4 separate regions of the Homo sapiens genome follow, and regions 1, 2 and 3 are each linked to region 4. Evidence: promoter capture Hi-C in human tissues and cell types (Jung and others, 2019). All regions are on one chromosome and are shown on one strand. The core of a region is centred on a gene start or on the middle of the fragment in contact, and the rest is flanking DNA. Distances in the headings are between cores, read along the strand shown.

Region 1 (2,902 bases), core at 397-2,896, 420 kb after region 4:
GGTGATAGGTTAAAGGTGTATACTCTAAACCCTAAAGCAACCACTAAAATAATGCAATCAAGAGCGACAGCTAGTAAGCCAATAAAAAATGAAATGGCATAATAAAAATATTCACTTTACCCAAAAGAAAGCAGAAAAAAAGAAAAAAGTGGAACAAATAACAGATCATTTAAACCCTTTCATATTAATAATCACATTAAATGTAAATGGCTTGAACACCCCACTCAAAAACAGAGTTTGTCAGATAGAATGAAAACGCAACAATCAACTATATGCTACAAGAAACCCACTTTAAATATAAAACATATTCATCAAATAAGAAAGCTTTGAAATACAGGAAGCAGAATTGATTGAACAGCAAGGAGAAACAGACAAATCTACTATTATAAGCAGATATTTCAACATCCCTCTTTTGATAATTAATAGAACAACTAGACAGAAAATAAGCAAGGATACAGACGACTTGAACAACACTTGAACAAATTTGACCTAATTGAGATTTATGGAACGCTTCATACAACTGCAGAATATATATTCTTTTCAAGTGCACATAGAACATTTACCAGAATAAACCATAGTCTCAGTCATAAATAAATCTCAATAAATTTAAGAAAATTAAAATTATATCAAGCACTCAGACCACAGTGGATCTGAAACTGGAAATCAACTTTAAAAGGAATCTTCAACACCGTGCAATTACATGGAAATTAAATAACCTGCTCCTGAATGAGCATTGGGTCACAATGAAATCAAGATGGAAATTTAAAAATTCTTCAAACTGAATGATAATAGTGACACAACATATCAACACCTGCGGGATACAGCAAAAGCAGTGCTAAGAGGAAAGTTCATAGCCCTAAATGCCTACATCAAAAAAGTCTGAAAGAGCACAAATAGACAATCTAAGGTCACACCTCAAGGAACTAGAGAAACAAGAACAAACCAAACCCAAACCTAGCAGAAGAAAGGAAATAACCAAGATCAGAGCAGAACTAAATGAAATTGAAACAAACAAACAAAAAATACAAAAGATAAATGAAACAAAAAGTGGTTTCTTTGAAAAGATAAATAAAATTGATAGACCATTAGCAAGATTAACCAAGAAAAGAAGGGAGAAAATCCAAATAAGCTCAATTAGAAATGAAACGGGAGATATTACAACAGACACCACAGAAATACAAAAGATCATTCAAGGCTACTATGAACACCTTTGCACGCACAAACTAGAAAACCTAGAGGAGATGGATAAATTCCTGGAAACATACAACCCTCCTAGATTAAATCGGGGAGAATGAGAATAAATCCAAATAAACTTAAATGGATTCAAACCATACAGAGTATCTTTTCTGACCAAAATGGTGTTAAATTAGACATCAATAACAGAAAGATAACTGAAAAATCCACAAATATTTGGAAACTAAATAATACACTTCTAAATAACCCATGGGTCAAAGGAGAAATTAAAAGGGACATTAGAATTTTTAACCGAAAGAAAATAAAAACACAAACATATAAAAATTTGTTGGATGAAGCTAAAACAGTATTTAAATGGAAATTTATAATTTTAAATACCTTCTTAGAAAAGAAAAATCACAATAACATCAGCTATTACCTTAAGAAACTAAAAAGAGAGCAAAATCACAAAGAAAACAAAGAGAATAAAGGAAATTATAAAAACCAGAATAGAAATGAATGAAATGGAAAACTGAAAAATGCAGAAATATCAGAAGCTAATATTAGAAGCTTTCAGATCAATAAAATTCACAAACCTCTAGCCATATTGATCAGGAAAAAAAGAGAAAACACAAATTACCAATATCAGAGGCCAAGTGCAGTGGCTCCTGCCTGTAATCCCAGCACTCTGGGAGGCCGAGGCGGGTGAAACACCTGAGGCCAGCAGTTTGAGATCAACCTGGGCAACATGGTGAAACCCCGTCTCTACTAAAAATAGAAAAATTAGCCAGGCATGGTGGCAGGCACCTGTAATACCAGCTACTCAGGAGGCTTAGGCAAGAGAATTGCTTGAACCTGGGAGTTGGAGGTTGCAGTGAGCTGAGATCACGGGGCGACAGAGCGAGACTCCATCTCAAACAAACAAACAAACGAATGAACAAATTACCAATATCAGAATGAGAGAGATAACATTATTCCAGATTCTATAGACATTAAAAAGGATAACCAGAGAATATTATGAACAAGTTTATGCCAGTAAATTTGACAACTTAGATGAAATAGATACATTCCTGGAAAGACGCAAATACTAAACATCACTCAAGAAAAGATAACCTGGAAAGTATATATTTCTCTTAAAGAACTTGAAATCATAGCTTAGATCTTTTCAACAAAGAAAACTGGAGAGCCAGATGACTTCACTCAGGAATTCTATCAAATCATTAAGGAAAAATTAATTTTAATTCAACACAAGCTCTTCTAGAAAATTGAAGAGGAAGGAATTTTTCTCAGCTGATTCTGTGAGGCCAGCGTTACTCTGATACCAAGTCCAGACAAAGACAGCACAAAGAACGTAACCACAGAGTAACATCCCTCTTGAACTTAGATGAATAAATTCTTAACAAAATTGTAGCAAATCAAATTTAACAGTGAATGAGGAGGCTGATGCGCAATGGCCAAGCGGAATTTGCCCAGCAAATAGGGTTGGTTTAATGTTCAATTAATGTAATACACATAATAATAAACTAGTAAAGAAAAACCACATAAATATCTCAATAGATGCTGAAAAAAATTGGCAAAATCAAATGTTCATTTCTGATAATAACTCTTAACAAACTGGGAATAGAAGGGAACTTCATCAACCTGATAAAGGGCATTTATAAAAAAAATATACAGCTAACATCATATTTAATGGTAAAAGACTGAAAGCTCTCCCCCTAAGATCAGGAAC
Region 2 (3,033 bases), core at 511-3,010, 270 kb after region 4:
GCCACTCCCTCCATCACACTGTAAAGTAAAGCTTGCCAATCAACACCCTTCACACAGATCAGCCTTCCCATTCAGGGAAGGAGTCTACTGGGCAAAAAAAACCTTTGCAAAGGCGGAAGAAACTCACTCCGGCTACCTGTAGTCATCACCCTAAAGTCTAGACCCTAAACCTTCATTCATAATACCAACAACCAAAATAACCAGTTACCCAAAGAAAAGCATCACACAAAATGAAAATACCTAACTCTGCCCTGAGGAAGCTTTCCAGAGGGGACACTAAGAATATCAGGCAGGGGCGTGGTGGCGGGCACCTGTAGTCCCAGCTACTCGGGAGGCTGAGGCAGGAGAATGGCGTGAAACTGGGAGGTGGAGCTTGCAGTGAGCTGAGATGGCACCACTGCATTCCAGCCTGGGCGACAGAGCAAGACTCTGTTTCAAAAAAAAGGAATATCAGGCAGAAAAAGAGAGATTTGGAGATATGAACTAGACATTTTGGAAGCTGCACATTATTTATCAAGGCTGGAATGCATATGGCAGTAGGGATGTTGAAGAAGATAAAAGGAGAAAGACAAGTGCCTAAGAAACTGGAAGGGGTTGTTGCTATAGGTGCGCTGCAATGAGATTAAACAAAATTTAAGTTGGCTTTGCTGATGGAACAGACTGAGAGGAGATGCAGACACCGAAAAATGAAATGAATGACATTATGCACAATTGATAAAAACTTAGTAAAGTATAGGACTACTAAAATCAGCTAAAAGGATAACTGGAAGAAGAGTATGATAACTGTTGCTATACTTCGCTGTCATTTTGTTACAAGCAGAAGTGTCATGTGGCTAATGGAGTAACATAACAGATTCCTGCCAACTGTGGCCATGACTCACTCTCTTTTGAATTCTGTGTGCAGGAGGTAGTAAGACTGAACAAGCTCACTCACACTACAATCCCAGGGAAGTCAAGGAGCAAGAAAGCCACAGCATATGAGAGCAGCAGAGTAAAATCAGTAAACAACGGCAACTAGGTTACACCACTGTCATGTTACCTACCCTGAGACATGCAGAAGTCAAGATTAAAAGCTGATTACTAGTTAAAAATACTTAATCTTCTTCAGCCTCTGTTTCTTCATGAAAAAACTGGGGGCAAATGACCATACATGTCAATGTCTTAATATTTTTATAAGAATTAGGACTGCTTACTTAGCACAAAGCTTATCTAGTAAGCACTCAATTGCCTAGCCATGAATCCAACTCACCAGTCCTCAGTGGCACCCAAAAGGCTGTCTTTACCCTTCTTGTGTCAAAATAGCACAGGTACTTATTCAGAAACATCTAGCACCTTCAGCATTTGTTCTTCATGTTCTGCTGTGAATTACAGACATGTCCTTTTCTGATCTTCTATGTCACTATAATTTTACTCCATGTAATGGTCTCTATCTGGAGTATTTTCTCCTTTCTCAAACTTCATTTTCAAGACTTTCTGATGAGGTTACTAGCAAGTGTTTTCCTGGCCAAAAATATCCCCTTTAGTACTTAAAAGATGTACCAGACATTTCTTCTCAAGGAAATATCACAGTATCAGCCGATACTGTAAGCACAGAGGGGAGTAAGTTTTGTTCTTCAACACTATCATCACAGCCAACCAGTCATGCTTTTTCCCATATCTCCTCCTTCAGAGAAAGCCAACTGGAAAAACAACAACAACACCTGTGCCCAAACACGTCAGCTTCCAGGAGTTAAATGTTCATAGAGACTCACTTAAGACATCTGACTATATCATTTACCACAACTATCAAGAGGAGCAAGGACTGATGGATTTGAAAGGCCTAAGTGGGCCACCCTGTTTGATGCACCTGCCACCAAGACAACACTCCAGTTAGCAATCATCCATGCCCTGAAGGCTACTTTGCAGGATACCTCACATCTGTAAGTTCTATGAATCTACCTCGTTGTCTGTAAAAACCAGACTCCCCTTTTATCAGAACTTGACTTATGTCCTGCATCTCATGTATAAAGGCTTTGAGGTGGCCTGTAAAAGTCAATGCCACTGAGGGAACTTTCTAGGAAAATGGAAATGTTTTCTAACTTGATTGGAGTGATAATTACAAGGGTGTATACATTTGTCAAATCATTCACCTACACACTCAATGTTTGAATTTTACTGTATGTAAATTGTATTTTAAAGTTGGTTTCATACATTGACTAGGGGAAATGCAATATCTCGATCTGAAAAAACAAATAGATCAAGATTAGGATTCCACACAACAAATCAAGCTAAGCTTCAAATTTTGCCCGTATCTTCCAGTAGCCACTACAAATGATTTACTTGTACCGTTCAAGAATGCGTTTCTGGCCGGGTATGGTGGCTCAGGCCTGTAATCCCAGGAGTCTGGGAGGCCAGGAGTTTGAGAACAGAATGGGCAACATAGTGAGAGTCTGTCTCTATTTCAAGGGCCTATCAAGGGAGCAGGGTACACCTTGGAGGTAGAATGCCCCTTCCTACTCTTGCGCCTCCTGACACTTGATGGTCAATTTTTCCTACATTCCCAGCCCTGAATATCATTAAAATTAATCCCTTCTGAAGGGTACTCTTGTACTTGCTATCAGAAGTATGTATGGACTAGCACTAAGCTTCTGGTGAGCAATTTGGAAGTATCTATTCACAATGAATTTTTAAATGTCACTATCTTATGATCCATCAATTCAAATCTAAGCCTCTGAAAAAGGAACCGTACAAAGATAGACACCGCAGCATAAAATCATAACCAAAAACCAATCAATAGGGAAAAGTTAAATCATCCTGTAATCACACCAAGGAATACTACACAGTAATTTTAAAGTGGGGCGGGGAGTAGATTTCCATAGTGTACAGAACCAGCTCCCAATAGAAACCTCAAGCACTAAACTTCTTATTTATTTATTTAGAGACGAAGTCTCACTCAGTTGCCCCGAGCTGGAATGAGGTGGTGCTGGTGTCAAACTCCTGGGCTCAAGCAATCCTCCTACCTCGGCCTACCAAAGTACTGGGATTACAGGGGTG
Region 3 (3,178 bases), core at 171-2,670, 440 kb after region 4:
CTTTCACTGTCACTTTCATTATAGTCTGGTTCAAAAGCAGCTTCATCAGTTTCTCTAGTTAAGTCAGAGGAAAGTCTAGAGGAATGACTTAACTGGGGTTTAGGCTTGACAGTACTCTTGTCAATTTGCCCAGTAATTTGCTCTTTTTCAACCTGTGTCTCTGGTGGGTTAAGTATATAAAGTAGTTTATTGCCACTTGACTCTTTATTGTTCCTTGCTTCTAATACATGCTTCTCACGATCCTTACAAGGATTTTTATCTACAGATTTTGTCTCTTCATTTGGCCGTTTAGTATCATAAGTGGCTTTGTGATCATGAGGTTTTCTGTCTCTTGAGGGACTAGAATTACTTTTTTTGGAATCTCCTGTTCCTTTTTTAGGCAAATCTCTCTCTTCCCTTGGTTTATTTTTCTGTCCAGATGCAGAATCTTTATTCCGAGAAGGAGAGTCTTTTCGTCTTGTTAATTCATTCTTTTCATCTCTACGTTTGGAACTTGAATACTCTCTGGTGTCATAGTCAGTTTTTTTGTCTCTATTGGGAGTGAAGTCTTTATTTGAGGAAGCACGAGTGGAATCATGTTTATCTGACGTTCTAGCCTCTTTGGAAGATTGAGACAGACTTTTAAAATTTCCTTGTTCATTCAGACGGTCCAAATTACTCTCTTTCTCTGGCTGAGTGCTGTTCTTCCTCTTTTCAGGGTTCTCCTTTTCCAACACTGAATAATCTCGATCTTTGGTTTTCCCTTTTTCACTAGATGCAGAGTTTTTTGAACTTTTAACCTCATGTTGTATGATTTCATGGCTCACGTCCTTGGTGAATTTCTGAATTTTCTCGGATGGCTCACTTTCTTTCTCAGGATACTTGACTATATTTGATGGCTTTGTACTAACATTTTTTATAACACTAGCAGGTTTTCCTACACTTGATATAGGCTGTGTGGATTTAACATCTTCTTCTTCAGATTCAAAGTCATCTTTATCCCATTTGGATTGAGGAACCTGAATCATAATGATAACATCTTCAGCTGGCGCGGTATTGTCATTATTATATTCTTCCATCGTTTTAATCACAGTTCGCTTTGTATCTGTTTTTTCTTCAGATTTCCGCACAGGACTGCCTCCAGTTGAGCTCGTACTAAAAAGAATAACAAAATATTTTTAATTAATGAAGAATTTACTATTAATTATAAAACACTGATAAATATAAAAATGCTAACTTAAACACAAATGTCCTTTTAACATTAAAAAAAACAAAAAACTTATTCTGCCCTAAGGAAGACACACAATTTAAGATTATGATTGTATCAACACAAATGTGGCTCACCCCCAAAATCTATTTACAACCTTGTCTTTGGCAATTCCCTTCTTCAAAGACAACAAAAGACTACATAAAACCAGCCTACTTCCCTAGATCAGCATTCATAATTAATATAAAAAGCACAAGCATGGATAAAACTGAAGAAAATCCTTCTCCCAACAAAGTTCCACACCCACCCCCTACACTCAGCTACCTGGTGTAATCCACCAGAGTTGAGCTGGATCCTTCAGTTCCAGTCACTTTTCGTCTGACCTTTCCTTTGACTTTTTCTTGTTTAACTTTGCTAGATGTTGACTCCAATTTTTCAGAGGGTTCTTTTGTGTTTGATATATTTTCTGTACTTCCAATTTTCTTCCCAGTTTCTCTGTTGAGTTTGATTTTTTTGGCTGGCGCACTTAAAGAAATTTTGTCCTTTTCAGGGGTCCTATCCATTTTTTCAGTATCAGGTTCCATTTTGCGCTTTGGTGATGGTTTCACTATTTCAGTCACTTCTAGTTTCGAGATTTTCATTGAAGAAGACTCAAAATCTTTATCTACGCCTTTTTCTTCAGTTTTTCTTTTTCTTTTTTCTCCCTTATTATCAAGTGGTTTGTTTTTCTCATTAGGCTTCTTGGCCTTTTCTTCCTTAGTTGTTAGCTTTTCTGATTTGACATCTTTGGAATAGTCCTTCTTCACTTTTTCCTCTTTGACTGGTTTTGTTTCTTGGTGTTCTTTTGCTGATTTAGAGTGAGCTTTTCTGGGGGTTCCAGTGATTTTTTCATCCTTCTGAGAGGAAGATGATGATTTAGTATTGTCAGTCTTCGGAGTCTCCTCTTTGGCTTTTTTAATTGGAGGTTCAGATCGAGGAGATCTCTCACGTTCTCCATCTACTTTTTCTTGGGGTCCTTTAGCAGGTTTTACAATATTTTCTTTTTTGGACACAGCAGATCCATCATTCTTCCGTTTGGTTTTATCACCCTTTGCTTTTGGTTTATCCCTTTCTCTCTTGTCTTTTTCAGACACTGATTTAAAAGTGATTGATTCTGCATCCATTGGTTCATCTCTAACAGGTGTGGCATCATCTCTACTTGGGAGAACAAACAATGAGTCTGTTTTATTTTCTTCAACACCTGTAGGTTCTCTTGATTTCCTAGAAGTCTCTAATAACTCTGGGTTCAGAAAACCCTCACTTTCCTCCCCTTTTCTTCTTTTTCTGTGTTTCTTATGCTTATTTCCTTTACCATCTCCTGGAGCGTTTTCACTCTCCTTCTCTTTTGACTTTGTATTATCCTTCTGATTGTGACCATCTCTTGCTGAAAGCTTTTCTGGATAGTTGCTACCTATGTTTCGACTTCTATGACTTTGCCCACCAACATAGTCTTCTCTGCGGCCTCTTGTGAAGGGAGAATTCCTGATGTTAAGTGGCAAAAATCTCTCTGGAGAAAAGTTCTCTCTATTTGCTGAGGGTCTAGGCTGTGCTCCAGCAGCATAACCTTTATAATATTTTTCATACCACTCTCTATATTTTCTCTCCCATTCTCGGTAGCGTTCTTTTTCAAATGGGTCTCTAAAGTCAACACTTCTCCCATAATATGCTTTCATGTCATATGGTGGTGGAACTTCTCTGTATCTATTAAAATATTCACGTTCTGTTTCCCCTTGAGGTACATTACGTTTATTAGGAGACTGTCCCCTAAACGCTTGAGGAGATCTTGATCGTGAATGATAGCGTCTGTAAGGGGGTGACCTTGACCTAGATCGATGATATCCATGAGATCTAGACCGTGAACGGTAATTGCGGCTCTTGCCTCTGCCTCTTCTGGGGTATGGAGGTGACCGTGAATAGGAACGAGAATGTGAGCGGCTGAATGATCGAGAATAA
Region 4 (2,890 bases), core at 161-2,660:
CCAGTTCTTCAATCTTTTCTTCCTAATTGCTTAGATTTTCTTGATGCTTACAACTTATTTCCCTCAATTTCTGTTGATGAACATTCTGTAATACTGATAATTCAAGCTGATGGTCATCAGTATCCTGACTTCTTTTTTGTTTGAGCTCCTTGATGATATTAATATTTGGTGTTTGTAGTTTGTAGATTTCATTTTCATCAAAACTAGTTGTTCCTCCTATTTTATAAGTCTGAGCAATACATTTCCAATGGCCAACTGGAGACTCAAGTTTTAGAACTTCATTGGACTATCTGTTTATTTCTTGTTATGATGAAATTATGTCATAAAAACCCATGTAAGCGTCGTGGAACACTGAAGCATGATGGGTACCACATGGAATGGAGGGGATGCAGTGTGGATGGGAACCTCCGGCCTTCCCTGAATGTGCTGACTCCAGGGCTGGCTGCCGGTCCTGCAACCGATCCTGTAGTGCTTGCTTTCTTGTTTTAGGAAGGCTCATTTCTACCTCTTTCTGTTGTAATTGATGTCGATAACTTTTAGTTTGCTGCCCTATCTGAAGCTCTGATGCTTCCTAGGTCTCTCCTAGGTCACTAAAAAGATCTTGAAGTCCCTCATTCTTTGATATTAAGAATTCCAAACTGGCATCAGTCTCCTTTATCCCATAGTTAGGGAGCTCTTTCCTTTTTCTATGACATTTAGGAGCACATTTGAGATGTGGCTGATGAAAGAAGCCACATTGCTGCCCATCCAATGCAAAGAAGGGGCTTACCTGGAGCCAAGGCCACCAAACCAGGAAGACATGAGTGTGTGAGCACGTGTGTTAAGGAAAACACACATTGACTTTAATTTTTTTTTTTTTTTTTTTTTTCGAGACAGGGTCTCTCACTCTGTTGCCCAGGCTGGAGTGCAGTGGCGCCATCTCGGCTCACTGCAACCTCTGCCTTTCGGGTAAAAGCCGTTCTCCTGCTTCAGCCTCCTGAGTAGCTGGGATTACAGGCGTCCACCACCACGCCCAGCTAAATTTGTATTGTTAGTAGAGACAGGATTTCACCGTGTTGGCCAGGCTGCTCTCGAACTCCCGAGCTCAAGTGATCTGCCCCCTCGGCCTCCCAAAGTGCTGAGATTACAACGTTGAACCACTGCGCCCTGCTAGAAACAGCTTTTCATACGTTGAAATAAACGAGAGGGTGACCGGGCAGCGTTGGGGTCGGGGAGGCCAGGCGGAGGAGGCCTAGTGGTCTTCTCGCCCGGGGCCTTCTAGCTCTTCGCCCGTGTCAGGTAAGGCACTGTTAGCCTCGGCTCGGTTCGACTCGGCTCTACTCGGGCTCAGCTCGGCTCGGCCAGACCTAGAGGGCGGGCGGGCGGTGCCACTGGAAGTGACGAGGCGAGGGCGGGGCCGCCGGCCCGGGGAGCCACCGCCGCGCCGCCGTTTGGGCCGGGAAGCGATGTAGTAGCTGCCAGGCTGTCCCCCGCCCTGCCCGGCCCGAGCCCCGCGGGCCGCCGCCGCCACCGCCGCCATGAAGAAGCAGTTCAACCGCATGAAGCAGCTGGCTAACCAGACCGTGGGCAGGCGAGTGCGCCGGGCAGCACGGGGGTCGCACCGGGGCTGGGGGCGGAGGGCGGAGGGCGCGGGGGCGGGACGGCTCCTCCGCGGTCCGGCGGCTCTGAGCTGGGCCGCAGCCCCTGCCCGAGACCAGCGGGGCACGGGCCCGGGGGCTGCGCCGCGCTGAGGCCCGAGCGCCGCGCTCCAGGCGGCCCGCCTGTCTCTCAGCGCCGCCGGGCTCCCGAGACCTGCAGGGGAGGGCCGCCGCCTCCTCCGCCACACCGCGGGGTCCCCTGCCCATTGTCCCTGCCCCGGGAGCATCGCCCTCGGGGAGTAGACCCGGTCCTTCTCCTCCCTTCCCGGGGGCCGAGCCAGCTGGGATCGCTGCCCTGGGCTCAACAACGGTGACTTCTGTCCCTAACGCTGTGCCGAGCGCTGTGCTGTGGGGGGCGGCAGTCCCAGGCTTTCCCGGTGCTCCCGCTGTTTGCGAGTCCTTCTCCTGTAAGTGCATGGCGGCAAGAAATGGCTAGAGGGACATGAAAGCCAGCCGGATTTGCTCAGTGAGTTCAGAACGCCCTTTGAGGGAATTCGGAGGTGGTGCTGTCTCAAAACCAGGGCTCCTAGGAACTGGACTGCTGCTGCCAGTTCTTGACATTTAGAAATTAGGAATTGGCGGAAAAGGATTATGGAGACGCCTTGCGCCAATTTAAAAAGTCTCACCTTAGGTTTGGAAACAAATGCTTCTTTATCTTCCTTTGCTACGGTTGAAGTGCTTAACAAGAAACGTTATTGATTATTAAATGGCAGGCTAGACCAGAGTTGGTAGATCAGGTTGTCAGAACAAGAAATGATTTGTGGTTTTTGAGAGTTTCTGGAGGTGACTGTCATGTGCTGTATTATCTGGGGCTAATATTTCAAGGTCTTTCAGGGCAGCTGGCTGTACTGTACCGATTTAGTGTTTATTCAGCAAAGAGATACGAAAGTATGAATTTCTCACAGCTCTTCTTTTGATTTTCTGTTTTTAACAGTTAAGGGGAGTTTGGTTTGGCTGAAGCACGTGGGACACTTCTTTTTTTTGAGTGTATGAAAATACTTTTACTTCCTCTCGAGTTTTCTAAATTTGCTTTTTACTGTTTCATTTCCTCCATCTTTTTGCTTAGTTTCCTTGTTTAATTTTTTCGATTCCCTACCGTATTATTGTGGTGAGAATTAACTCTTATTTTCAGGGTTAATCGCTGCCCCTAAAGCCCAGACAAACCTACTTTTCTGTTATTTGCAGGAAAATTAAAGAAATAATGCTGAGAGGAAGGTAGACGTGTGGTAATGGCGGCTGATGTTTCAAGGAAC

What was found. The method cuts DNA at HindIII sites, captures the fragments that hold promoters and counts their contacts. A contact is called where the count stands out against the background at its distance.
Region 1: a contact is called between a fragment that was not itself captured here and the fragment with the promoter of ARHGAP17 in region 4, in 1 of the 25 tissues and cell types used here (dorsolateral prefrontal cortex).
Region 2: a contact is called between a fragment that was not itself captured here and the fragment with the promoter of ARHGAP17 in region 4, in 2 of the 25 tissues and cell types used here (aorta and dorsolateral prefrontal cortex).
Region 3: a fragment that was not itself captured here is called in contact with the fragment with the promoter of ARHGAP17 in region 4 in 1 of the 25 tissues and cell types used here (mesenchymal stem cells).

The regions. Positions count from the first base shown.
Region 1 is chr16:24,598,134-24,601,035 of GRCh38, reverse strand. No RefSeq gene overlaps it. Among named protein-coding and RNA genes, the nearest start is that of RBBP6, 60 kb to the right of the region's middle. The HindIII fragment of the contact is 3,086 bases long and covers 104-2,902 here.
Region 2 is chr16:24,746,296-24,749,328 of GRCh38, reverse strand. The region is part of intron 2 of TNRC6A (trinucleotide repeat containing adaptor 6A); the gene reads right to left. Among named protein-coding and RNA genes, the nearest start is that of TNRC6A, 18 kb to the right of the region's middle. The HindIII fragment of the contact is 3,228 bases long and covers 147-3,033 here.
Region 3 is chr16:24,568,832-24,572,009 of GRCh38, reverse strand. RBBP6 (RB binding protein 6, ubiquitin ligase) reads right to left here. Exons shown (of 18, transcript NM_006910.5): 17 at 1,511-3,178; 18 at 1-1,134. Among named protein-coding and RNA genes, the nearest start is that of RBBP6, 31 kb to the right of the region's middle. The HindIII fragment of the contact is 8,080 bases long and covers 1-3,178 here.
Region 4 is chr16:25,013,889-25,016,778 of GRCh38, reverse strand. It overlaps ARHGAP17 (Rho GTPase activating protein 17), which reads left to right and starts at 1,410. Exons shown (of 20, transcript NM_001006634.3): 1 at 1,410-1,570. The coding sequence starts at 1,518. It also overlaps the pseudogene LOC100421171. RefSeq lists silencers at 1,272-1,521, 1,602-1,651, 1,712-1,761, 1,822-1,871 and enhancers at 1,185-1,853, 1,854-2,522. The HindIII fragment of the contact is 28,450 bases long and covers 1-2,890 here.